Linked DNA regions of Homo sapiens: regions 1 and 3 are each linked to region 2. Evidence: promoter capture Hi-C in 16 types of primary human blood cells and fetal thymus (Javierre and others, 2016). All regions are on one chromosome and are shown on one strand. The core of a region is centred on a gene start or on the middle of the fragment in contact, and the rest is flanking DNA. Distances in the headings are between cores, read along the strand shown.

Region 1 (4,611 bases), core at 1,519-4,018, 260 kb before region 2:
TTCACCTGTTCCAGGCCTTACTACCCTCCTTCAGACGGTCAGTGATCTGCATTTTAGCTCTTGGCACTGTCATCCCACCAGAGAAGCAGTCAGGGACCTTGGACTCAGCCCCGCCCACATCCACTCCACCTGCGAGCTCTGCCGACGCCACCCCACAAACCTCTCTGGGACAGTGCTCCCACCTCCCCACTCCACGCCACCATCACTGCCCACTGAGATGACAGTAAAGCCCCCACCCATCAGCCCCCGGCCTGGAAGCCCTTTCAGAATTGCAGTGGGAACCCTTCCCTGCCTAACCCACCAGCGGCCCCCCTTTGCTGTTGGGATTTGGAATAAAGCCCTTAACATGCCCCCCGTGCCCTGCCTCTCACAAACTGCCCTGGACTCCTGTGCCCCTACCCTGTGCTCTTGAATTTCCCTCTCAAAAGGGTTTTGTGAGTGTTGGCCTCAGCCTCCAGTGCCTCTCTCCCCGCTCTCCCGGGTCATTTCCTTCTCTTTCTGCCAGGGAAACTTTCCGGAGTCCCCATACTCACTCGGGTCTTCCAGTTAGATGCTCTCAATTCCTTCCTGGCTCATATGGTGGTCATCTAGCACGCGGCTGGGCATGCGTTCTGCTAACCTCTGGCTCTTCTGATGCCATGTAGGCGCCCCAGGGCAGGCACTGGTGTGGTTTTGCCCGTCCTTATATTCCCAGCGCCCAGCACATGTCATTAAGACAAGTTTGGAACAAGTGCCTGTCTTGGGGAAGTTATTTCCTTCTCCAAGCCTCAGTGTATCTATCAAATAGCCCTGCTTTCCCTGCAGGCTGTCACAAGCCTACAAAATCCCCCAAACAAACACCCGCAGAATGACAGATGGCCTCCCTGCCCTGGTAGTGTCACTCTTCAAATCAACTTCCCAGGCCCTGGAGGCAGGCGGCAGCAGGCTGTCAGCCTTCAGAGTCCCCAGAGTGAGACAGGGTCTCATTTTGTCACCCAGGCTGGAGTGCAGTGGTCTGCTCCAGGCTCACTGCAACCTCGACCTCCCAGGCTCAAGCAATCCTCCCACCTCAGCCTCCAGGAGTAGCTGGGATTACAGGCACATACCACTATACTCGGCTACTTTTTAAAATTTTTGGTAGAGATGGGGTCCTGCTGTGTTGCCCAGGCTGGTTGTGAACTCCTGGGCTCAAGTGATCCTCCCACCTCAGCCTCCCAAAGTGCTGGGATTACAGGCTGGGCCACTGTGCCTGGCCTCTTTTATAATTTTCTTAACATTTTATCTTCTCTAGCTTACTTTATTGCAAGCGTGTACTATATAATACATATTGACAAAATATGTGGAAATTGTTCTCAGTGAGGCATCCAGTCAACAGTAGGCTATCAGTAGTTAGGTTTTTGGAAAGTAAAAAGTTATACATAGATCTTTGACTGCGTGTGGGGTCAGCACCCCTAACCCCTGTGTTGTTCAAGGGTCAACTGTGCTCTTTTGCAAGCTTTGAAGCATGTGAACGCCAGCACCTACCCTGTTCTTGAGGAAATCCAGCGTTCCCTTGATACTTGACCTTATCTAAACAGGACTGCCACGGAGACTTTACTCTGCAAAAGCAACAATTTCATCTTCACAAAGTTTCAAATGGTAAATAAAAAAAAATCCCCTGAGGGCTTTTTGTTCACTGGAAAATTCTCTCATGCTAACAAACTTAATTATTGTAACTACAAATAAATCGTAATCTTTCCTTTCCTTTCATCTTTCCTCATCTTACGTGCTGCAGGGAAGCTGGGCTAAGAGCTGCGCGGTTCCTGAGCCTCTCGTTCCGGGAGAATCTTGGAGGTTCAAGGCCTTGCTTGCCTGAGAGGTGCTGAGCAGTGGCACAGGGTCATTGCTCGCTGTGTTAACGCGTGAGTGAGTGAACAGTGAACACCTGCAAGGTTAATACTGCACTGGTTAAAGAATTTCAATTAAAATGAAATGAAGCCATTTTAAATCCATCAAATTCATTCATTCATTCATAATAAAGTGATTAATCATTATAAAGAGAGCAATAGTAGTTTACATATATATATAACAGTACATTTATCTAAAATAGTAGATGTGTGTGTGTTTGTATCCTTTGTCCATTATTGAGCTTGGCAAACAGGAGTACATAGAAATAAAAGCAGACCTTACTGACATGTAAGTCAATAATGAATGCCTTTTCCTTCCCTCATCTTATCATTCTCTCCATTGTTAATTTAAAAACAATTGCTTTTGCCAGTATTCACAAAACCACGTAAACTGACAATTGAGTATGGTAATTAGGCCAAATCCTTTATGGTTATCTCCCCTGATGAATGCTTCCACGCCATCTGCAAACTACAGTCTCATCTGCAAACTACAGTCTCATCTGCAAATGGCCCAGGTGAGAATAAAATCTGCATATGAAACAGAATATAGTGTGAATCATATCTAATTTTAAATATTTTAATTTATATGCTTTCATGAATATAGGTCAATAAGAAATCCACTTTTCAGATTTTATTTCATTATAGAATATATTTGACAAGGATACATACAAACAGATTCATCTTCAATAATACATGGTGTTTACTGGTGCCCTGCACTTCTGCAGTAGGCTGGTGATGTCATCAAAAATGTTTTTGAAAGTTGCACTTCATCAGTCACTCTAAACAACCAGTGCCATAGAGCTCAGATAATTCCATTCATTTACTTGCCTTGAATGAGTAAAAATCTTAATATTTGCTTTAAAGTCTGTTTATTACTCTTCTATTTAAAAATTTGAGATACATTCCCCAATGTAAACAATAAATTTCAATCTGTCACACAATCGAAATGGATAAGGCCTTCTTGACAAATTTCTGCCACCTCCGTTTAACGCATCAGAACTCAATCTTATCTCATACTGTAATGGGTCGCCCATGCACAAAAGACAGGAAAAGCAGCTGCCCTTGGTACCTGGTGGAGCCTTTCGAGACTTCTCTCTGCAGGTTTATGGTACGCTCGAGAGAGATCTTTCTGACTTGGTCTACTTGGTCATAAAATACAAATATACAATGTCCATAAGCATAAGACAGTAAAGCCTAGTCTTACATATTTATTATGAATTGCTAGAATCCTATACAAGTACAATATCATCTCATGCCAAGTAATATACACAAGAAGGTGGCAAAATGTCTCACCGTGAATCAGGGCGTGTGAACAAGGGATGGGGGATGCAAGCCAGGTGGGTGTGAAGAGGCTGACCGCATCTGGTTAGGCAGGACGGTGTCACTGAAACTTGGAAACGCCTGTGTACCCTGCTGAAATATTGAAGTCAGTTAGGAGTAGAGTCTGCTTAGCACAAGAGGGATACAAGCCCTCTCTCACAGCCTCCCCAAGGGAGAATGCAATGAAACTTTGGAAAATGTAACCAAACACAGTCTCATCTTTGTGTCTCCTGATTCAGCTGTGCAAATCAGTTATTCACTCTTCTGAAGTGATCTGTCCTTTTAGGACCAATTCCTCAACAGCCATCGTGGTTCAGTACCTCATTATCATCATAAATATTTGACTTAGCAAGCTAGATGGTGAAACAGTGAAGATTATATACAATGTTTTAAAAGGCATTCTGTGACCATTTTTGAAGAGTTCATAGAAAAGTTACTAAGAATATACCAGTTACTTCTGTTGATGTGGCTATAATGTAAACGTTGCAACCTTGTTGGTATTCAATGTGCACTGTGTCATATATTGTACAACAAAAGTGAACACGGAACCGCTGATCCGCTGTGGCGCCCGCTGACACGCTAAGCTAAGGTAGCCGGCGGAGGGCACAGTTTTCCTGAGGTTTGTAAGAATTTTTTAAACAAAACAGAAATCACAGTGACCAAGGGTAATGCGAGTCTGTGTCTTCCTTGCCCATGCTGCTCCCCACAGCTCTCGGTGGGTACTAAATGACGCGCCACTGCATGATGCTTGTGTCTTTCCCGCCCGTGGAGATGAGGTGGCTGTCTTCACAGAGGAAATCGACATTGGTGACATGGCTGCTGTGCCCGCCGTAGATGTGGCTTGGAGCCTGGAGGGAATGATACGGGGGAAAGCTTCCTTTACTACAAGGCGAACCATCTGGGATGGGAAAGTGCTTGAATTCTCACTGCATGCCTTAATTCCTTTACTCGCCCTCCGCTCGGCAGCTCTCACTTGGGAACCTGCTCTGTGTGTGACACAGAAGGGACACAGAAACAAAGCCCACAGTCCTCGTGGCCTGGTAGGGGACAGACACGAGCAAATGACCGCCCTCAGCCGAGAGATATGCTCAGTATCAGAGGTGCCAGGTATGAGGTCGCCCCAAAGGTGGGCCTAACCAGATGCCCGGGGCTGAGGGTGAGGGGTCTCCAGGGTCAGGATCACGGAGGATGAAGAAGGGCGTCCCAGGGCTCAGGGCTGGCGCGGCTGAGCAGGGCCGGAGCAAGGGAGCCGTGGGGGAGGGCGGGGTCGTGAGCCTGTGGGGCTGCAGAGGTGGATGAGCAGCTCTGAACGGCTTTGTGGGTCCTGTGGGGCTTGGGGTTTCCCTAAGGGCGGCTGGAAGTGCTCAGGGCGCAAAGAACAGAGTCACATCTGCCTTTGTGGCTGGCAGCAGTCGCTCACAGCCCA
Region 2 (4,301 bases), core at 1,119-3,618:
ACTACATGAATGAACTTTTGAAACATTATACTAAGTGAAAGAAGCCAGACACAAAAGGCCACATATTGTATGATTCCATTTATATGAAATGTCCAGAACAGGCAAATCCACAGAGACAGAAAGCAGATTCATGGTTGCCAGGGCTGTGAGGGGTGGGAGAAAATGAGGAGTGATGGCTAATGGGTACGGGGTTTCTTTCTGGGGTGACAAAACAGTTCTGAAATCGGTGGCGATGGCTGCACAGTGCTGTGAATGTACCAAAAACCACTGAATCATACACTAAAGAATACATTTTGTGGAATGCAAGTTACATTTCAATTTTTTTTAAGATGATTTAAATTCTGCTTTCTCAAGACACAGAGACCAGAACAGGTCATTTGAGTTTATGAGAAGACCAAGTAACGATGAAACTTATCAGAACAAGCACCAAACTCATTCAATTCTAAGTGCTGATGGCTTCTCTGAAAACTTGAGAGGGTGATAGTGTCCACCACGGAACTCACGGGAGATTTCCACCATTCAACCTTGAATTGCTATTCATAGAGTGTCTACTATGCATGTACAATGTGCTGCTACATGTCGGAGATGCAGCAGTGACTGAGACAGACAGGGGGCCCATGGAAAAGAGACACTTAGGAAAAACTTGCACAAATAATTGCCCAATTAACATTATGCTGTAAAGGAAAATTACAGTGATTTCAGGGTTTATAAAATGAACATAATATTTTTGGGGGAGCAGGAGGAACCTCCCTGAGGAGTTAGCATTGAAGCCAAACCTGGAAGGCTGGGGGAAGAAGCATCCAGGTAAAGTAGAAGGCAGAGGAGCTAAGCAAGGAGAGAGAGAGAGAGCACCAGAAGGGCAGAGAGCCAGCAGGGAGAACAGGTGCCTCCCTATGTCACCAGCCACAGAGATCTTTCCTGAACCCATCAAGCAGAGATTCAGGCTTCTAACGCCAGTACATCTGGCTTGTGCTGGAGATGGGTGCCTTCCAGAATATTCATGTCCTGAGATTTTAAAAAGTGTGTCTAATACAATTGTTTATTCATTCATTCAACAAATATTTATTGAGATCTGCAACACGCCAGGCACTGGGGATACACAAGCGAACACAGAGTGTCCCTGTCCTCCCGGGGCTCACATTCTAGAGGGGGAGACAGTCAACAGGTGAACAGACAGTCAACAGGTGGAAAGAAGGTAACCTCAGAGGTGATGGCCCCTGAGAAGTCTGGGGCTGGGTGGTCTTTACACAAGGTGCTGGGCAAGGCCTGTTTGAGACAAGCAGAGGAAGAAGCCCGCCAGGCCCAGGCTTGAGAAAAGGACCCGGGGGGAGGGAAGCTGCGGGGGGGGCGGGGGGAGGGGGAGGCTGGGAGAAGAAAGGCTGGGGGCAGTAGTGAGAAAGCAAGAGGAAAGAGCAAGCTGCAGAGTGGGTTCTGAGTGCTCGGCAGGGGCCTCGCGGGCCATGCAGCCGACTTAATTTAGAACTGCATTTAGTTGTCAAGTGATGGGAAGCCCTTGGAGCAGGGAAATGACACATTTAATTTAAGCTTCACAAAGCTAAGCTGGGGGTGGGGGGGGGTTGGCAAGTTGAGGGGGGTGTAAGTTGCGTGGGGGTGGGGACCAAGAATGCAATTGTAAGTACTAAGGAGAAGACAAATGGGGTGTCCCAGAACAGAAATACAAGCAAAAGGAAACATGACTGAAGTACAGCGTGCTCCAATCCAGGCTGACCCTGTCCAAGTCCCAAAGTTAACAGCGCCCACTTTGGAGGCAGGCTGACCTGGGCTTAAATCTAGGCTTACCAACCGTGTGACCTTGGGCAGGTGACTTCGCCTCTGAGCGCCTCAGTCTCCTCGTCTGAACGATGGGTTAACAATAGCGCCTACCTGAAAGGGCTGTGGCTGCCATCACGTTTGTGGGGCCCAGCTGTGCGCGGTGGGCGCCCAGCAGCTGCTGCGGCTGTGAGTAATTTGTTACTAAGAATAGTTAGCGCCCCTCTCGGGGCCGCCGACTCCCAGCGGCCGCGCGCACTAGGCGAGGCCGGACCCCCGGCCTGGACGCCGGCTTAGACGCTGTCCCCAGGCCCCCAGTCCCAGCACCCCAGCCAGGCCCCGCCCCCAGCCCCGCTCACCTGGGCCGCGGCGGCCCGGGGATGTGCTCGTAGCGGCTGCGAGCGCGGTGCACGAAGGTGCAGCAGAGGCCGAAGGCGAGCAGGACGGCGCTGCCGAGCAGCAGCAGCCCGGGGCTCATGGCTCCGGGGCAGGGCAGGCCAGGCCAGGGTCGGGCCGGGCGCCGAGGGGGCCGGGAGGCCGCGAGCCGACTCAGCTGTCAGCGCCGCGCGCCGCCTCGGCCCCAGGCCAGGCGCGACCCAGCACCCTCCCCGCCCGCTCGGCTCCGCCCCCGCCGACTCCGACCCCTCCCAGGGCGCACAGTCCCCGCCAACCACGTCTCCGCCTCCGGCTCCGGCGCTCCGGGCCCTCCCCCGCCCCGCCCCGCCCCCCAGAGCTCCGCCCCAACCTCCACACCGCCCCAGCCCAGGCCCCACCCCGAGCATGTGGTCTTCACCAATCACAACTCCGCTTCTGGCTCAGCCCCCCAGGCTCCGCCCCCACCTCTTCAGACTCAGGTCCGCCCCAGCAGCAGCTCCGCCCAGAACGCGTTGTCCCTGGCAACGCCGATCCTCAGCGCTCTGGCCCGGCGGCGGCGCGAAGTCCTGCTGGCTGGCTCCGCCCGCTTCGGCGCCTCCAAATAACGGCATCTTTCCGCGCGCGGTCTTAGGCCCCTTCCTTTTTCCCCCAAACCTGCCCGGAAACCCCATCCCAGCCTGCAAAAGTCCGCATAACGCCGACTGTTCCCAAACTTCTCCTTGGAACCCCAGACCCCCAAAGTTGTTCTCCAGTTGCCCCGGGGCGCCTCCTCCGCCCGGACAGTCCACGCCTAGCGCCCGTGGTCCGCCAGCGGGGCCCGCGGGCTGGTGGCAGGATCCTGCGGGACCCAGGGACGCCTGTGTCTGCGACCGAGAGCGCACGGCGTGGCCGGAGGCTGTTCTCCCAGAGACTCGGGGGCCTGCGGACCCTCCTAGACCAGGCGAAGCCCCATCTGAGGCGCTGGCTCAGGCCCGAAGGAGTTGGAGTTGGAGGGATGAAAATCTGGGTCCGCCCTCCAGGGAAAGCGGGAAATGTGCCGGGGAGGCGGGGGTAGCGGAGGAGAAGGTATTTTCGAAATAATGACCAGGGCTTCCCCCTCTGTCGTAACCCGCGTCTCCTTGCCCATCCCGTATGAAGATGAGGCCAATTCTGGGCGTTTTAGTTCCCAATTCCTATCCCGAGGGACCACCCAGCGTGAAAGTCGTGGCAGGGGAAGGCCAGGTGTGCCCACTCCTAGCCCAGGTAAAGGTCCCCCGGGCTGGAGGTAGAGGCCCAGGGAGTGTAGATGCTGCTGGGTTTCTGAGAAGAGGCAATGCCCCTGCCCCACGCTTGAGCCAGTCCTGGAGAGGTTGGGGGTTGGAAAACGAAGGGGACCTTGGTACCGCCTTCCCAGGTATAGTTAGGGACATGGGACATGGCTGTTAGGGGTGTGGGCTGAGGGGCGACGGAGACGGCCAAGTCTTAAGAGCCGTGCCCAGCACGGAGGAGGCGGGACTTCTGCCCTCGGGGCCACCGCAGCCTGGACAGGTGGGCAGCAGAGCATCCATCCCCCCGGCGCCTGGCCCGGCCGCCCAGTTGGACTCGGGGATGTTGGCTTGCTATGGCGCCCCCGTGTGGCGGCGGTGACAGGCAGCCGCAGGCCCACAGGGTAACTCAGGCTGGCCCTGCTGGGGTGAGGTGTGGAACGGAGCCACCAGGTCCCCTGTGGGCTGTGAAAGCTCCGGGGCTTGAGGGCAATTTGGAGGGAGGATGAGGCTGCAAGAAGGAGGGTGTGGATTCCTGCGCACTGGAAGGTGGGTTGGGGTGGTTAGCTAGAAAAGAAATGTGACGGCATCACATTTAGTATCCAGTTTGTGGAACGGCTCCCTGAGATTACACAGTGCATCGCACTGTCTGAAGAGGACTTTCTCTTGCCTTGTCTCTCCAGACCCCTGGAACAATGGTACTGTTAGCAACAGCAAATCCATATGGGTCTGCAGCAGCCTCAGTTCTTGCCTCCTCAGAAGAAAGAATTCGACTGAGGGGCGTAAGGCAGAGTGAGAGGCAAGTTTTAGAGCAGGAGTGAAAATGTATTTAAAAGTTTTAGAGGCCGGGCGCAGTGGCTCACGCCTGTAATCCCAGCACTTTGGGAGGCCGAGGCGGGCGGATCACGAGGT
Region 3 (3,927 bases), core at 910-3,409, 280 kb before region 2:
CCTGGCTGTGTCACAGGGCTGGGCGGGAGCAGGCCTGCTGTTCTGCAGCCAAGTCTGAGTGTTCCCACTTTATGGGAACTTAATGTCTCCACTTAATTGAAGAAGAAAACTAAGCCAAGTACATGCCTGGGACAACCAGCCAGCCATCCTAGAGAGGCCTAAGGGTCCCCCTGGAGCCCGTGCCCCTTCCCAGGAGCCCTGAGGCCACTGGGAAGGGAAGCCCCATCCAGCTCACACCTAGGAAAGCCAAAATCTCTCCTCACTCCCAGCTAGTCATCGGGTCCCAGCTTGGGGGCCCGTTCACCATCAGCTTTGGGGAAGAAACTTCCCGCTCACTTCTCCTGCCTGCTGTCTCGCAATTACCGTGGGGACTGTGGCAGCCAGGCCTTTGTGGGAGCCGCCGGCACTTCATTCGCAAGGAGGCCGGGAGGCCCGGGCATCCGAATGCGAGCAGACGTGTCAGGGGTCGGGGTGTTGGGAAGTTTAAAGGCTGCAGCCTCCCCACCCAGGGAGGCACGGTCTTCCCGCCAGGCTGCGCAGTCAGAATGTGGCATGTCTAAAGGAGGGAATCGTAGAGAAGTGATGAGGAGAGTCAAGAAGATCTTGCCTAAGAGCAATTGGAAAACAAACAAAAAAATCTTGAGAATAGAAAATACATTATTTCAAAATTAAGAAATTAATTAGAGGCAGTGAAAAACAAAAGACACTCCTGCAGAACAAGGGTCAGTACACTTTCTGCAAAGGACCAGCTGGTAAATAGTTTTGGCTTTTTCAAAGCCATGTGGTCTGTCACAACTGTGGCAGGCCAATTCTCCCTGACAATCACACAGACGGGCCTGTATGACAGTCGACAGACAGGCCTGCACAGCACCCCAGTTACACAGATTTCCACAGCGCTGCCTTAACACTGAGCAAATAGTTAAACCTAGGGCAATCGGTGCCCAGACATCAAAGCTACAAATAAAGCATACGGTCAGTAGAAGCCTTGCATGGGCTTCTCCCTAACCTGGAGCAAGTCAAAATAATAGAATCTAACATTCCTAGTGCCAGGACCTGCCTCGGGTCGACAAAATCTGAGACGAGTCAAGGTAACAGAGGCAGCTGTTTGAATAGATTCATCAGAGAGTCTAAGGCAGCACTCCAGACCAAGCTGTAAAGGAGATAAGATAGAAATAATCACTCTGGTACCACAGGAGACAGGCCTTGAAGGTACTGGGGCCCACACAGCTTAATCAGACTTAGCTTGTTTTTTTTTTTTTATGTTCCAAATGTGATGGGTTTATTTTATTTTACTCTGATGCAAAATCAAAGATTCCACAATAGCACAGAGACCAATATATTACAGAGTCATGAAAAAAATGGTGTGAACATGCAGGACACGAGGTACAAACTGGAGGTTCAGATCGTCTCCTCTAACATGACACCACACTGTCGCCGAGGAACACATTTAATAACACTGCAGAACTGAACCGAAACGTGGCACAAACAGGACAGCTTCCAGGCATGCTTTCCAGCGCCTCCCCTCAGGAGGGACTCACAACCCCTAGACTTCAGTGTGGGGAGGATTACAATTTTTTGGAAGAGTAAAAAGTTCACACTTTTGAAATTTCACAGAAGGATTGTAGGGCCAAAACATGGTGGGTTCATTTCTCTTCACTTCCAGGGACAAATCTGATGCTTTCCTCAAACCACATTAAGCTTGCAGTTCAAACGCCAAGCCAACCTTGTGACCTCCTGCACTGAAGTTGTTTCCATCGATTAAAGCTGATAAAGGGTCAATTTGACTCCGGGTCGAAGGGTCTGAGTATAACCCAGTCCAATCAGGCTGGCATTATTTACTTTAGCAGAGAGAGAAGTTCTACAATCCAGCTTGTACTTAGTAGCAATGCCAAAATGGGTGTTGTTACTCCAGCCGTCCAAGCAAGGTTTATTGACATTTCAATCCCATTAACCTTCTGGTAGATAGAACCTCCAAATTCAGTGCCATCGGTCACATGTGTGTGCAGCTGGAAGTCTGCAGCCTCGTAACCCAGGGCGAAATTATTCTGTGACAATTTGGATTTGGCTGTGTCAAAACTCATCTGATAGCCGGCAAGCCACCCTTCAAAGACCAACACAGCCCAGCCATAGATGGTTGGTCCGGAAAAATCTAGATCAACATTACTGCCAACACTAAAACAATCCCATTTATAGGAGGCCTTCAATTCCCCACTCTTCTTTCCTGTGTTTGGTACCAATATGGTATCAAGACTCAGTTTCAACCCTTTAGCCAACTTATTCTCCAAAGAGATTTCTGTCCCAAGAGTATTGTCTGTGTTCCGTTTTTGAGTGAAGGTAAGTCCATAGTTACAGACCTTACATTCGGGTTCTAGGTTGCCTGATGCTTTCCCTGTATCAGTGTAAGCATGACCAGAAGTAGAAAATTCCACTGCACTACAGGACTTGGTTTTCAGGTCTATCTTCCCCATGCCAAAGCCATATCCTTTGTTGAAGACATCCTCAGCAGCCTTTCCCAGGTCACAGTAAGTTGGTGTGTTACACATATCTTAGAAAAATCTTTCTCAGGTTCTTATGAAATCAAAGACCTCCACCCCCAAGGGCCTGTCTCCCACAAGCTTTTTTTTGCCTCTGACCTTCTAGTTGAAACAAAATTAGTTACCAATAGACTTAGGCGAATGTTGTGCTGCACGTAGGCACATAACTCCAACCTGTATAAGCAATTCTAACACTTTGAGTTGGTCTGGTGGAATTATCTCTGGCCTTCTGCCTGTATCCGGTTACAGCAATAAATTCCCTTTTTTTTTTTTTTTTTGGGACGGAGTCTCACTCTGTCGCCCAGGCTGGAGTGCAGTGGTGCAATCTCTGCTCGCTGCAACTCCGCCTCCAGAGTTCACGCCATTCTCCTGCCTCAGCCTCCCAAGTAGCTGGGACTACAGGCACCCGCCACCACGCTAGGCTAATTTTTTTTTTTTTTTTTTTTTTTTTTTTTGTATTTTTAGTAGAGACGTGGTTTCACCATGTTAGCCAGGATGGTCTCGATCTCCTGACCTGGTGATCCGCCCGCCTCGGCCTCCCAAAGTGCTGGGATTACAGGCATGAGCCACCGCACCTGGCCAATTCCCTTCTTCGCTAGTTTGTCTGCTTCTCATTATTGGGACTCAAGAAGAGGCAGCTGGACCTGACTTGCTTCCGGGAACACAACTACTTCCCTTGGCCTTTGACTTGAAGACAGCCATAGACCATATGTGAGTGGATGTCACTGTGTTCCAAGAGAACTTTAGTGACAAAAACAGGTAAAACCATTTTTATTTTCAGATGACATTATCTTACCTATAGAAATTCCTAAGGAACCCACTCAAAAACTATCAGAACTAATAAACAAGTTCTGCAAGGTCCAAGCATATAAGATAAACATATAAACATCAATTGTATTTCGATAGACTTGCTATGAAGAATCTGAAAATGAAGTTAAGAAAACAATTCTATTTACATGACATCAAAACAATAAAATACTTATGAATGAATTTAACAAAAAAAGTGTAAGACTTGTACACTGAAAACTATGAAACGACTCCGAAAGAAATTAAAGAAAACCTATAAACGGAAAGATATCCATTTATGGGTTGAAAGAGCTAATATTATTAAAATGGCAAGAGAGCCCAAATTGACCTACAGATTCGATGCAATTCCTGTCAAAATCCCAGCTGCTTCCACTTTTATTTTGTGCAGAAATTAGAAAGCTGATCCTAAAATTCATCTGGAAATGCAAGGGACCATAGAATAGCCAGAAGAGTCTTGAAAAAGAATAAGTACAGGTATATACATTGATGGAATAAAATAGACAGTCCAGGCAGGGAGTGGTGGCTCACACCTGTAATCCCAGCACTTTGGGAGGCTGAGGCAGGTGGATCACCTGAGGTCAGGAGT

Evidence for each region. Contacts are between HindIII fragments. The CHiCAGO score rates a contact against its expected background, and 5 or more counts as called.
Region 1: a contact is called between a fragment that was not itself captured here and the fragment with the promoter of CYP46A1 in region 2, in 1 of 17 cell types (endothelial precursors). The highest score is 9.1, in endothelial precursors.
Region 3: a fragment that was not itself captured here is called in contact with the fragment with the promoter of CYP46A1 in region 2 in 1 of 17 cell types (endothelial precursors); the score reaches 5.9 in endothelial precursors.

What each region holds. Positions count from the first base shown.
Region 1 is chr14:99,939,409-99,944,019 of GRCh38, reverse strand. EML1 (EMAP like 1) reads right to left here. Exons shown (of 22, transcript NM_004434.3): 22 at 1,960-4,033. The coding sequence ends at 3,908. It overlaps LOC102724682 (a long non-coding RNA gene), which reads left to right. Exons shown (of 6, transcript XR_007064328.1): 4 at 1-37; 5 at 1,557-1,617; 6 at 1,754-2,016. Among named protein-coding and RNA genes, the nearest start is that of EVL, 120 kb to the left of the region's middle. RefSeq lists an enhancer at 3,763-4,611. The HindIII fragment of the contact is 2,584 bases long and covers 1,477-4,060 here.
Region 2 is chr14:99,682,365-99,686,665 of GRCh38, reverse strand. CYP46A1 (cytochrome P450 family 46 subfamily A member 1) reads right to left here and starts at 2,368. Exons shown (of 15, transcript NM_006668.2): 1 at 2,130-2,368. The coding sequence starts at 2,248. RefSeq lists a silencer at 1,984-2,563 and an enhancer at 3,804-3,873. The HindIII fragment of the contact is 4,802 bases long and covers 1,548-4,301 here.
Region 3 is chr14:99,963,145-99,967,071 of GRCh38, reverse strand. It overlaps the pseudogene VDAC3P1. Among named protein-coding and RNA genes, the nearest start is that of EVL, 100 kb to the left of the region's middle. The HindIII fragment of the contact is 917 bases long and covers 1,701-2,617 here.